Linked DNA regions of Homo sapiens: region 2 is linked to region 1. Evidence: promoter capture Hi-C in 16 types of primary human blood cells and fetal thymus (Javierre and others, 2016). All regions are on one chromosome and are shown on one strand. Each heading gives the region's core, a stretch centred on a gene start or on the middle of the fragment in contact. The rest is flanking DNA. Distances are from core to core; before and after follow the strand shown.

What was found. The method cuts DNA at HindIII sites, captures the fragments that hold promoters and counts their contacts. A CHiCAGO score of 5 or more calls a contact.
Region 2: a fragment that was not itself captured here is called in contact with the fragment with the promoter of CLRN3 in region 1 in 1 of 17 cell types (monocytes); the score reaches 5.9 in monocytes.

Annotation. Positions count from the first base shown.
Region 1 is chr10:127,891,481-127,897,077 of GRCh38, forward strand. It overlaps CLRN3 (clarin 3), which reads right to left and starts at 1,461. Exons shown (of 3, transcript NM_152311.5): 1 at 1,076-1,461. The coding sequence starts at 1,304. The HindIII fragment of the contact is 797 bases long and covers 1,265-2,061 here.
Region 2 is chr10:127,955,615-127,961,411 of GRCh38, forward strand. The region is part of intron 1 of PTPRE (protein tyrosine phosphatase receptor type E); the gene reads left to right. Among named protein-coding and RNA genes, the nearest start is that of PTPRE-AS1, 24 kb to the left of the region's middle. The HindIII fragment of the contact is 566 bases long and covers 3,678-4,243 here.

The sequences.
Region 1 (5,597 bases), core at 211-2,710:
CCTTATGGGAAGCTGAGGTTGACACCAGAGGAGATGTCCCTGAAAGGCTATGGCAATGCTAGGGGAGATGCTGCTTTTGCTAACATCTAAATGACAAATGTATAACTTGGGAACATAACCAGGTTGCTTTGGATTTAAGAAAATAGTTTCATTAACAAAGTCATAAACACACTAGAGCTAGAACTTAGAGCTAGTGTCTAGGACTCAAACTTCTTCATGCATTACACAAGGACTAAACATTACATGTGTATAAGGTAGAAAATGATGCATATTTATAAGTCAAAAGGTAATGACTGTATGATACCCAATAATGCCTGTATAATACTTGCATACAACATTGTTCAAAACAAAGTCCACTTAATGTGTTACATAATTTACAAATGTTTTTAAATTTAGAAAACATGAAGGTAGGTTATCAAACCTCAAAAGTCAAATAAGTAGCTAAATCAACTTATTATTCTCAATGAACTTTTAATTTTACTTCCATGGAGAGGAGGGCATTATTATATAAGAAATCAGAAAAAAAAATGTTTAGGAATTCCTATCAAATATACAATTAATAAATTAATGGAAATTTAATATAATTTCCAACGATTAGATTTTTTGGAGGTAAATTAAAATCAGTTAAAGAAATGAACTTGAGAAATAGAGATAATAAATTTTCCATTTTACTCTTTCCTGCATAGATGCCACTTGTGAAGTTCTAGACAGAGGTTGTGGCTCCAGCTAAAAACCCAGTCAATACAGTTAAAACATGTGTTCCTACTGGCTATTCAATGCCGTATTGCTGCCACATATTTTTACTTATTTACTTGTCAGTCAACTTGGTAGGTATTATTTAAATACAGCCACTGCTAGAATGATATAGACTATTGTATTAATAGACACAAGGAGAACCGAGGAAGCTCAAATAATGACATGGCAAATTTCCAAAATTATGAGTTAAGCTTGTACCTTCAGCCTAACCCAAAACTTACAAAGAAATTATTTTTGAATGGTTATTTGGCCCAAATATAGAATGACATAAACCTTAATTCAATCTCACTATATTCATTCAAATTAGTTTATCATTTACCTGCAAACTTTTTCTTTGGTTCTGCAAGTCCGTGACTCAATTCTTCACTACTCTCCCCACGAAAAAGTCCGTAAGTGATGAAAATGCTCCCATTTGAAGCAGAGTCTCTAACAGCAATTGTACTGGTGATCCATGCTTGTGTCCCAAGAATAGAGCAAATTACAATGAAGGACCCAAGGCTGGTGAAAAAGCTTGATAAGAACATCAATGTCTTCTTTGTGGTAGGCATTTTCACAGGAAAATAAGTTCTCTAGGACAAAAAAAGGAATATCTTCTTATAACACTTTTGAACCTTATCTTTTGAAGTCTGGTATTTAGAAATGGAGTCTAACACTTTATTGTCAAATATAAAATCTCACTCTTCCTGAGGAAGGGTTATGCTAATGGACATTGAACTCTGAACATGGCCATAAAATTAACAGTAGCTGAACTTTGGTCTGGAGTAAGAGGCTGCTATGGTTACAGCCAACCAGCATGAACAAGGGGTGGGCATGGTCTTCCCAGGGACTTCCTCAATCATGCAATTAATTTATAATCCTTGGCCAAGTGTCATGGAAGCAAGTTTAGCCTACCATATCATGACAGGAGTAGAATTCCTAAATAATAGGGCGTGGAGGATCTGTATTCCCAAAGCGTTGCTGAGTCTAGCAGACAACAACATGAAACCCCAACTCCTCCAAGAATTATTGGAAATATGTAAACATATACTTCACTATTGTGGATATTTATGTTGCTTCAATTTCACAATTATGATTGAGAAAGAACAACACCCAAATATCTTTAGGCATAAACCTTTGTTCATATCTCCACTTGCTTCCTTGCTTAAACTTCTAGAAGTTTGACGAAGTCTGTGGATTTTTCTGAAGTTTTTGCTATGCATTGCTCAGTTTCTTTACTCATTAGTGATTTGACTCTTATAATTGTTCCAAGAGGAATCCTAAGGAGGGTAAACCTTTGTCAAATGTACTGTGGAGTGGAAAGAGAAAAGCTTACACCTCCTTATGTTTTATACCTCTCTATTTTTAGACTTTATCAGAGAGGTTTGGCTTTCAAATTTCCTCTTTCAAATTGGATCATATTTGCGTATTATTTAAATTATATCTTGAGAAGTTTCATCTTTATTACTTTTTAGTACTCTGATAGAGATGGTTCTGAACATTCTTGTTTTTGGTCGTTATAGCTGTATCCACTCTGTTGAATGGTAAATAGTTTATAAATGGTCATTTCTGGACTTTCGAAAAACTCTCCCATTTGGCGAAAAGATCATTTCTTGAGATGATAAATAGACATTCATAGCATGTTTTCCATACCGCTTTTTACTGTATTCTTTGATTATTTAGTAATATAATATTAAGTTGGTGCAAATGTAATTGCAGTTTTTGCCATTAAAAGTTACATTTACTTTTAATGGCAAAAAAACGCAATTACTTCATCCTCTACTTTTCTTCATTAACACCTAACTTATTTGTGGAACTAGCTGATCATCTGTCTTTTCCGTTATTGTAACTAGATGACATGCTCCGGGAGGTGGACATGTTTGTTTTGTGTACCACTGGATTCCAGGGAACTCTCAAAGAGCCTGGCCCAGAGAAGACACTCAGCAAACATTTGTTCAATAAATTATTGGAGATACGTACACACATACTCTACTACTGTGGACACTTATGTTGTTTCTATCTTAAAATTATGATTAAGGAAGAACAATGCATGAACATCCTTATGCATAAACCTTTGTCCATATCTCTGATTATTTCTTTGGTTAGACTTCTAGAAGTGAGTCAAAGTCTGTGAATGTTACTGAAGCTGTTGCTACACATTGCCCAGCTGCTCATTAGAAAAAGATACCAGTCACCCACCATGCCCTTAACACAATGAAGGTGCACACTTTCCTACATCCTCAAAACATGTATATTATTGGGAAAATTTACTATTTTTTCCATTTAAGTCTATTTATTTTGACCACACTTTTAAAGGGTGGGACAGAATTTCAGTAGTTAGTTCCTTCTGGCCCTATTCCTAGTGTGGAAAATAATTTTGTATTTATTATTGTATTTTGTATTACATAGGCCTATTACAAAAATGTATTCAAATGGAACTGGCAAGAATAAAGAAGAAAGTAAATATAATAAATAATTTATCCAACAAGAAGTAATTGTGTTCACAGTTGGGCAAAGACTTTCATACCTACAGCTTTATGTCTTAGCTTCCTGCTGCTATAACTGAACACCTGAGGCTGGGTGATTTATAAAGAACAGAAATTTATTTCTTATGGCTCTAAAGGCTGAGGAGTCCAAGGTCAAGGGGCTGCATCTGGTGAGGGCCTTCATGCTAGTGAGGATTCTGAGTCCTGAGGTGGCACAGGGCGCGCATCATGGTGGCCAGATAGCAAGTGGGCTGACAGTGCTAGCTCAGGTCTCTCTTCCTATTCTTATAAAGCCACCAGTCCCACCCCGGAGAAAACCCATCGATCCATTAATCCATTAGTCCATGAAATAATTAATACATTCATGAGGGCAGGGCCCTCATAATTCCATTGCCTCGTAAAAGTGACAACTTTCCATACTGCCACACTGAAACTCACCAATATGAGTTTCAGAGGAGACAAACATCTGGTGTAGCACCATGCACACATTTATAATACAATTGAGTCCTACTCTATGTTCTATTTTATAATCTGCTTCATAAAAATTTCAACAACTTGCCATGGCAATCCTTTCATGTCAATAGATCACATTTACCATTGTATAAAGCAACCACAAATTATTTCTACAAACCCTTTTTGGTGGACATTGAGGTTGTTTCTAGCTTTTCACTGCTGTACCCGTGATGTGGTGATACTCCTTTTATGTTCGACCTTGCTAACCTTTCTAGGTATTTCCTTGAGATAAATTCTGAGAAGGAGAATTGTTGAGTCAACCAAAAATATGTGTTCACCAGCTGAAAGTGTGTCCCAATTTAAATTCCTGCCAACAGCATTTTGCATTAGAGTCCCCAATTTCCACAGCTTCCCCACAGCATAGTATTGCTACTATTTTTAATCTTTCACAAGCTGGGAGACAAGAAGTAGCTTGTTGGCATTATTTGATTTTTACATGTCAGTTAGAGTTACTATATTCTAATAAGATTATTACCCATGTGTATTTTTACTGACACAGTTTTCTGTTTATGATGTTGGCTCCTTTATTATATAGAGAGGTTTTTTATTTATGATTTTTTGTACAGTAAAGATAGTAAACCTTTGTCAGTTCTGTGTATCTTGTGGATATATATATATGTATACTGAAATATATTCATTGAATATATTTATTCATTTTGTTATTTGCATTTCAATCATATTTATACATTTATACATTTTAAACATATGTGTAGATATTTTGCTGGCTCAGGTTAAAAATGTCTATGTAACCGAATATTTCAGTCTTATACTTTATACTTTCTGGATTTGGTATCCCAACTCCAAAGTTATTAAGGCTATTTACATATAAAAACCAACTCAAGTTTGTGTGAAACAGAAAAGTGATTTTTTTTTTAAAGATACAGGATTATTTTGCATTCCCCAAGGTGAGGTGACAATGAGAACTCAGGAAATTACTAGAACTAGAATTTCTATTGCCTTCTCTGCTCCTTACTGCATATCTGTTTCATTTCCTGGGTTTTTTTCTAATATTAAATTTTATCTTTCCTGCTATTCTGTTGCTGTCTTTTATTTTGTTTTTCCTCTTCTAATTTTCTGAAATGAATATTTTATTTTCTTAATTATTTTGTTTTTGCATTAATAAAATATTTAAAACCATGAATATTTTTCTCTTCATATATATATATGTCTTTGGCTAGGTTCCATAGGTTTTTACATATGTAAATTGGCATTTAACATCTTGAAATTGCATTTTTTATTTCCTGTTTGTTGAGGACAAAGTTTGTAAGATAATTGTATGGTAGCATTATTTCTATTTCGGTTATTTGTTTCTAGTTGTCTATAATTTTAATCAAATAATGTGATCTTAAAATACATCTACTCTTAGGGTTTTATTGAGATTTTATTTGTAGACAATTTATAATCAATGTTTATAAATGTTTATAACATTTTTTGTCACTGTAGGCTATTTTGTTTAATGGATTTACCATCATTTATTTAACAATGTTTTATTTTGGCCATTTTGGATATTATGAAATTTTTTGCTTATACAAATTTGCTTAAATACAGATCATTAACTATATCCTTAAAATAAATCTCAGGAGAATTGCTGACTCAGATAGACATTTTTAGACTTATTATATTAAATATAAATTGGCCCCCAACTGGCTTGCAATTCATAATCCCACCATAAATGTATGAGAAAGCCCTTTTTTCTATAGCACTGGAAAATGTTTGTTATTTTATATGTAATATTGCTTTAAGTTACAATTCTATGGTTTGCTTTTCTGTCACTATAGTTTTGGCTTTTCTAGAATTTCATAAAAATGGTATATTATAGTAAGTAGTCTTCTGTATCTGACTTTATTTTTTAGATTCATCTAGATA
Region 2 (5,797 bases), core at 2,711-5,210, 67 kb after region 1:
TAGTATTTAAGTCATGAGATATAAGGAGAAGAGTAAACATCATGCAAGGACTTTTTCTGAAGAAGGAATTATATTCATCAGTTTTCACACTACTGTAAAAAACTACCTGAGACTGGGTAATTTATGAAGAAAAGAGGTTTAATTGACTAACAGTTCTGCAGGCTTAACAGGAAGCATGACTGGGAAGCCTCAGAAAACTTACAATCATGGAGGAAGATGAAGGGGAAGCAAGAACCTTCTTCACGTGGTGGCAGGAAAGAGAGAGAGAAGGGGAAAGTGTCACCTTTTAAACCATCAGATCTCGTGAGAACTCACTCACTATCATGAGAACAGCAAGGGGGAAATCCATCCCATGATCCAGTTACTTCCCACCAAGCCCCTCCTCCAATTTGACATGAGATTTGGGCAGTACACAAATCGAAACTATATCAGGGATTAATGTGTTTTTGGTTGTACGCAGGATAGCTGCATCCTGTCAGGTGAAACTATTACCTTATTATTATCTTATCTGGAAATTAAGTATGATTTCAGGAGTTGCATATATATAGGTGCCAAGTTGACAAGGGGTGGGCTTGTGATGGTTAATTTTAGGAGTCGACTATATTAAAGAATATCTAAAAACCTGGTAAAACATTATTTTGGGGTGTTGTCTGAGGGTATTTCCAGAGGAGATTAGCATTTGAGTCCAAGTGGACTAGATGAGAAGCCACACTGCCAGCATCTCAGGGACTCCACCTTGCAAACGGCTTCTCAAGGGACTCCTCAGCCACAACTGTGTGAACCAATCTCCCTAATAAATCCCCTCTCATATGTCTATATATTCATTGCATTGATTTTTGTTTCTCTGGAGAATCCTGACTAATACAGACATCTTGGTTGCTTCCAAGTTTGGGCAATTAAGAATAAAGCTGCTATATACATACATATGTGGGTTTTTGTGTGGACATAAGTTTTCACCTCATTTGGGCAAATGCCAAGGAGTGCAATTGCTGGATCATATGTTAAGTGTGTTTAGTTTTATAAGAAACCACTAAACTATCTTCCAAAGCAGCTGTACCATTTTGCATTTGAAGCAATAAATGAGAGTTCCTGTTGCTCCAAATCCTTACCAGCATTTGGTGTTGTCAGTGTTCCGGATTTTGGCTATTACAATAGGTGGGTAGTGGTGTCATATTGTTGCTTTAATTAGCAATTCCCTAAAGACAGATGATGATGAGCATCTTTATGTATGCTTATTTTCCATCCATATGTTTTCTTTGTTGATGTGTCTGTTCTGGTCTTTGCCTGTTTTTTTAATGGGATTGTTTATTTTCTTATTGTGAGTTTTAAGAGTTTTTTTTGTACATTATTGATAAAAATCCTTTATCAGATATGTTCTTTGCAAATGTTTTCTCTCCAGTCTGTGGCTTGTCTTCTCATTACCTTGACAGTGTCTTCTGCAGAGCAGGAAGTTTTTAATCATTATGAGGTTCAATGTATCAATTCTTTCTTTTATGGGTCATGTTTTTGGTATTGTATCTAAAAAGTCATCCCCTTATCCAAGGTCATCTAGATTTTTTTCTGTTATTTTCTAGAGTTTTATAATTTTGCATCTTACATTTAGGTCTATGATCTATTTTGAGTTAATTTTTTGTGAAGGGTATAAAGCCTGTGTGTAGATTCATTTTTTGCATATGGATTTACAGTTGTCCCAGCACCGTATGTTGAAAAGACCATCAATCTTTCTGCCTTTGTATTGCCTTCACTCCTTTGTTAAACATAGTTGACCATATTTATGTGGGTCTATTTCTCTTCCATTCTGTTGGATTTTTTCCTTCAGATTTGTTACATAGATAATCATGTAATCTGTGAACAAGAATATTTGCATTTTTACTTCTTAATCTGTATACCTTTTATTTTCTTGTCTCATTGCAACAGCCATGACTTCCTGTATGATATCAGAAAGGCTCTCCATTCTGTTCCAATGATGTTGATTATTTTACTGAAGCTTTATAGTTAAGTCTTGGGGTCAGGTAGTGTCAGTCCTCCAACTCTGTTCTTCTCCTTCAATATTGCGTTGGCTATTGTGAGTCTTTTGCCTCTCTGTATAAACTTTAGTATCAGTTTGTTGACATCCACAAAATAACTTGGTGGAGATTTTGACTGGGATTGCATTGAATCTGTAGATCAAGTGAAAGAACTGACATCCTGACAGTTTTAAATTTGTTTATCCGTGAACACGGAATGTCTCTCCATTTATTTAGTTGTTATTTGATTTCTTTCATCAGAGTTTTAATATAGATCTTGTACATATTTTGTTAGGTTTATGCCTAGGTATTTCATATTTAGGGATGCTAATATAAATAGGATTGTGTTTTTAATTTTAAATTTCACTTGTTCACTTCTGGCATACAGAAAAGTGACTAACTTTTTGTATTAACTTTATACCCTGAAACATTACTATAGTTACCTATTAGTTCCAGGAGGTTTTTTTGTTTTGTTTTTATTCTTCCAGGTTTGTTACATAGATAATCATGTAATCTGTGAACAAAAATATTTGCATTTTTTACTTCTTAACCTGTATATCTTTTATTTTATTTTCTTGTCTCTGCAATAACCATAACCTCCCATATGATATCAGAAAGGAGTGTCAAGAGAGGACATCCTTGCCTCGTTCCTGATCTTAGTGGGAAAATGTCTAGTTTCTTACCATTAACGTATGACATTAGCTGTAGGTTTTTCATAGCTGTCCTTTATCAACTTGAGGAAATTTCCTTCTATTCCTTGTTTGTTGAGAGTTTTCATCATGAGTCAGTTTTGAATTTTGTCACGTGCTTTTTTTTGCATCTGTTGATATAATCTTGTGATTTTCTTCTTTAGCCTGTTGATGTGATGGATTACATTAATTGATTTTCAAATTTGAATCAACCTTTTATACATGGGATAAATCCCACTTGGTTATGGTGAATACTTATTTTTATACATTTTGGATTTGATTTGCTAATATTTTGTTGAAGATTATGCAGCTAAATTCATGAGAGATATTGGTCAATAGTGTTGTTGTTTTTTTTCTTGGAATGCCTTTGGTTTTGGTATTGAGGGTAATATGGGCATCATACAATGAGTGTTCCCTATGCTTCTATCTTTTGGAAGAGATCATAGAAAATTGATTTAATTTATTTCTTAAATATTTGGTAGAATTCACCAGTGACTCATCTGTGCCTGGTCCTTTCTGTTTTAGAAGATTATTAATTATTTATTTATTTTCTTCAATAGATATAATTCTATTCAACTTGCCTTTTTTTTTTTTTTTTTTTCCTGAGACGGAGTTTCACTCTTGTTGCCCAGGCTGGAGTGCAATGGCACGATCTCAGCTCACTACAACCTCCTCCTCCTGGGTTCAAGCGATTCTCCCATCTCGGCCTCCCGAATAGCTGGGATTACAGGCATGCGCCACCACACCCCGCTAATTTCGTATTTTTAGTAGAGATGGTGTTTCTCCATGTTGGTCAGGCTGGTCTCGAACTCCCAACCTCAAGTGATCCGCCTGCCTTAGCCTCCCAAAGTGCTGGGATTATAGGCATGAGCCACCACGCCCGGCTGAAATTGCCTATTTTCTTTTTTTAAACAGAAATCCAGGTTAACAACAAGTTGGGACTTGAGGGGAGTGGAGAAAAACAGTGCAAGAGTTTCCTAAAAGCTTACCCAGTTCATGCATTCACTCATTCATTCATTTGTACATTCATTCATTTGGTAATTCACTCAATAGCCTCCTACTGAACCCATTTACCAGAAATAAGTCCTGCCTCAAGATGATAGCATATGCCTTTCTTATGCCTTCCTGGGCATTTTCTTGAATTACTTTTTTGTGGTTGTTTTTAATGTGTAAATATACATCCCCAATAACTCAGACTCATTAATTTATGTTTGTAATAATTGTTGAAATAAGTTTGACAGAAGGTGACCTTTCTGAATTTGCAAAGAAAGTGATTGCCAGGCAAATTTAAAGCAGAAGTCCATTGTGGGGAAGATGTTGTGTCCAAAGCCACACACTTTTCAACGAGCTTTAAGCACTTTCTCCATAGTGTTGAGGGCACAACTGTGGAGTCAGACCTTCCCCAGTATGATCCTGGGTCAGCTACTTCCCAGCAGGGTGACTTAGGATTGTCTCCTTGTCTCTTTAATTCTCCTTTCCCTGACTGTAAAGTGCAAATAATATGACCCACCTTGCAGGCTGCTTGTGAGGGTCCATGAGATATTATGAAGCTTCTAGCACAGTGCTTGGCAGGGCACTGATGGGAGCTCTTACCTTTATTATTAATTCATTCAAAGGGAGATTTACTGATACTCTCTTTAGTGCTGTAAGAGATGTGACGATATCAAAGCTAGTGCCTGTCCTCTTGGAGAATGTAACTCTTTGGGGAAGCTAGGACAGATGCAGATTATTACTATGTAAGATGGGAAGTAATAAAAGACCTGGGAAAACAAGTGAATGGCAGACGCAGGTCAGAAAGGAGACCAATCCCTCCAGCTTGGGCATGCTTGCTGGCATGCGGGTGCCCCAGGGACTCGAGATCCTGTTGCTGAATGATCAGATGGTGGCATCTGGGGTGGACACTGAAGGACGAGGCTGGCTGTGTGTGTGACAGCAGACCTTTCTCCCTGCTGCCTGTGCTGTGCTTTCATACTGCAGACACCCAGCAAGTGAGCGCTGAGTTAGATTCCAGAGAGAGAGTTCAAGAAAATGCATAGCAGCAGACAAACCCCTCTATCGTTAATAGCAAAGATTTCTTATTTGTTCATTTGCAAGATCCTTTGTCAAATTCTTCTGGCCTTGGGCCCTTTGATCACTTCTGTGTCCTGTGCACTTAAGTCTGGTGGATTCCTTCTTGCCCCTCAGCACTCAGCTCTGGCAGCCGTGCCTCCCCCGAGTCCGGTCTGACCGTTCCCTGCAGCTTTACCTGGTTCTCTGTGAGCCTGAGCACTTGGGCTGCTCCATCTTTCAACAGCCCCAGGAGTTGGTCTGAGTCATCTTGGACCTCCTAGCTCAATAAATGTGTAAACTTGCCATAGCCCAGATCTTGCTCTGATTTATCAGCATTTAGCCATTAGTCCAAATACGTGAGGCTTTTCAAAAAATACAGAAACAGCCGGGCGCGGTGGCTCACGCCTGTAATCCCAGCACTTTGGGAGGCCGAGGTGGGCGGATCACTAGGTCAGGAGATCAAGACCATCCTAACATGGTGAAACCCCGTCTCTACTAAAAATACAAAAAAAATTAGCCGGGCGTGGTGGTGGTCACCTGTAGTCCCAGCTACTCAGGAGGCTGAGGCAGGAGAATGGCGTGAACCCGGGAGGCAGAGCTTGCAATGAGCTGAGATAGCACCACTGCAGTCCAGCCTGGGCCAAAGACCCAGACTCTGTCAAAAAAAAAAAAAAATACAGAAACAAGTAGTTCCCACTCACCCTTCCTCTCTGCTGTTAGTGTGCATTCAGACGATGCCAAGGAACGGGCTTCTCTGGGCAGAGCCGGGGCTTTGCGAGGGGTCTTTCTCAGCCACACGTGTCCAGCATGTATGTGGCCTTCTCCTGGGGCATAGAAGTACTTATTTCAGACCACACAAATGAAAACGATTAACATTCAGCAAAATATCCCAGCTGCAGTCTAATTATTTCCTATGGTTGTTGGTGACAGCGTCCCCTTTTTGGAGCAGGGTTGGCCGGAGGCAGGATGAGAACAGTGTGGGCTTGTTGGGGAGGTGTTGTAAGGCACCCAGCACAGAGAATTGAAAAGCCTTCTTTAGAAGCTTCTCTCTGG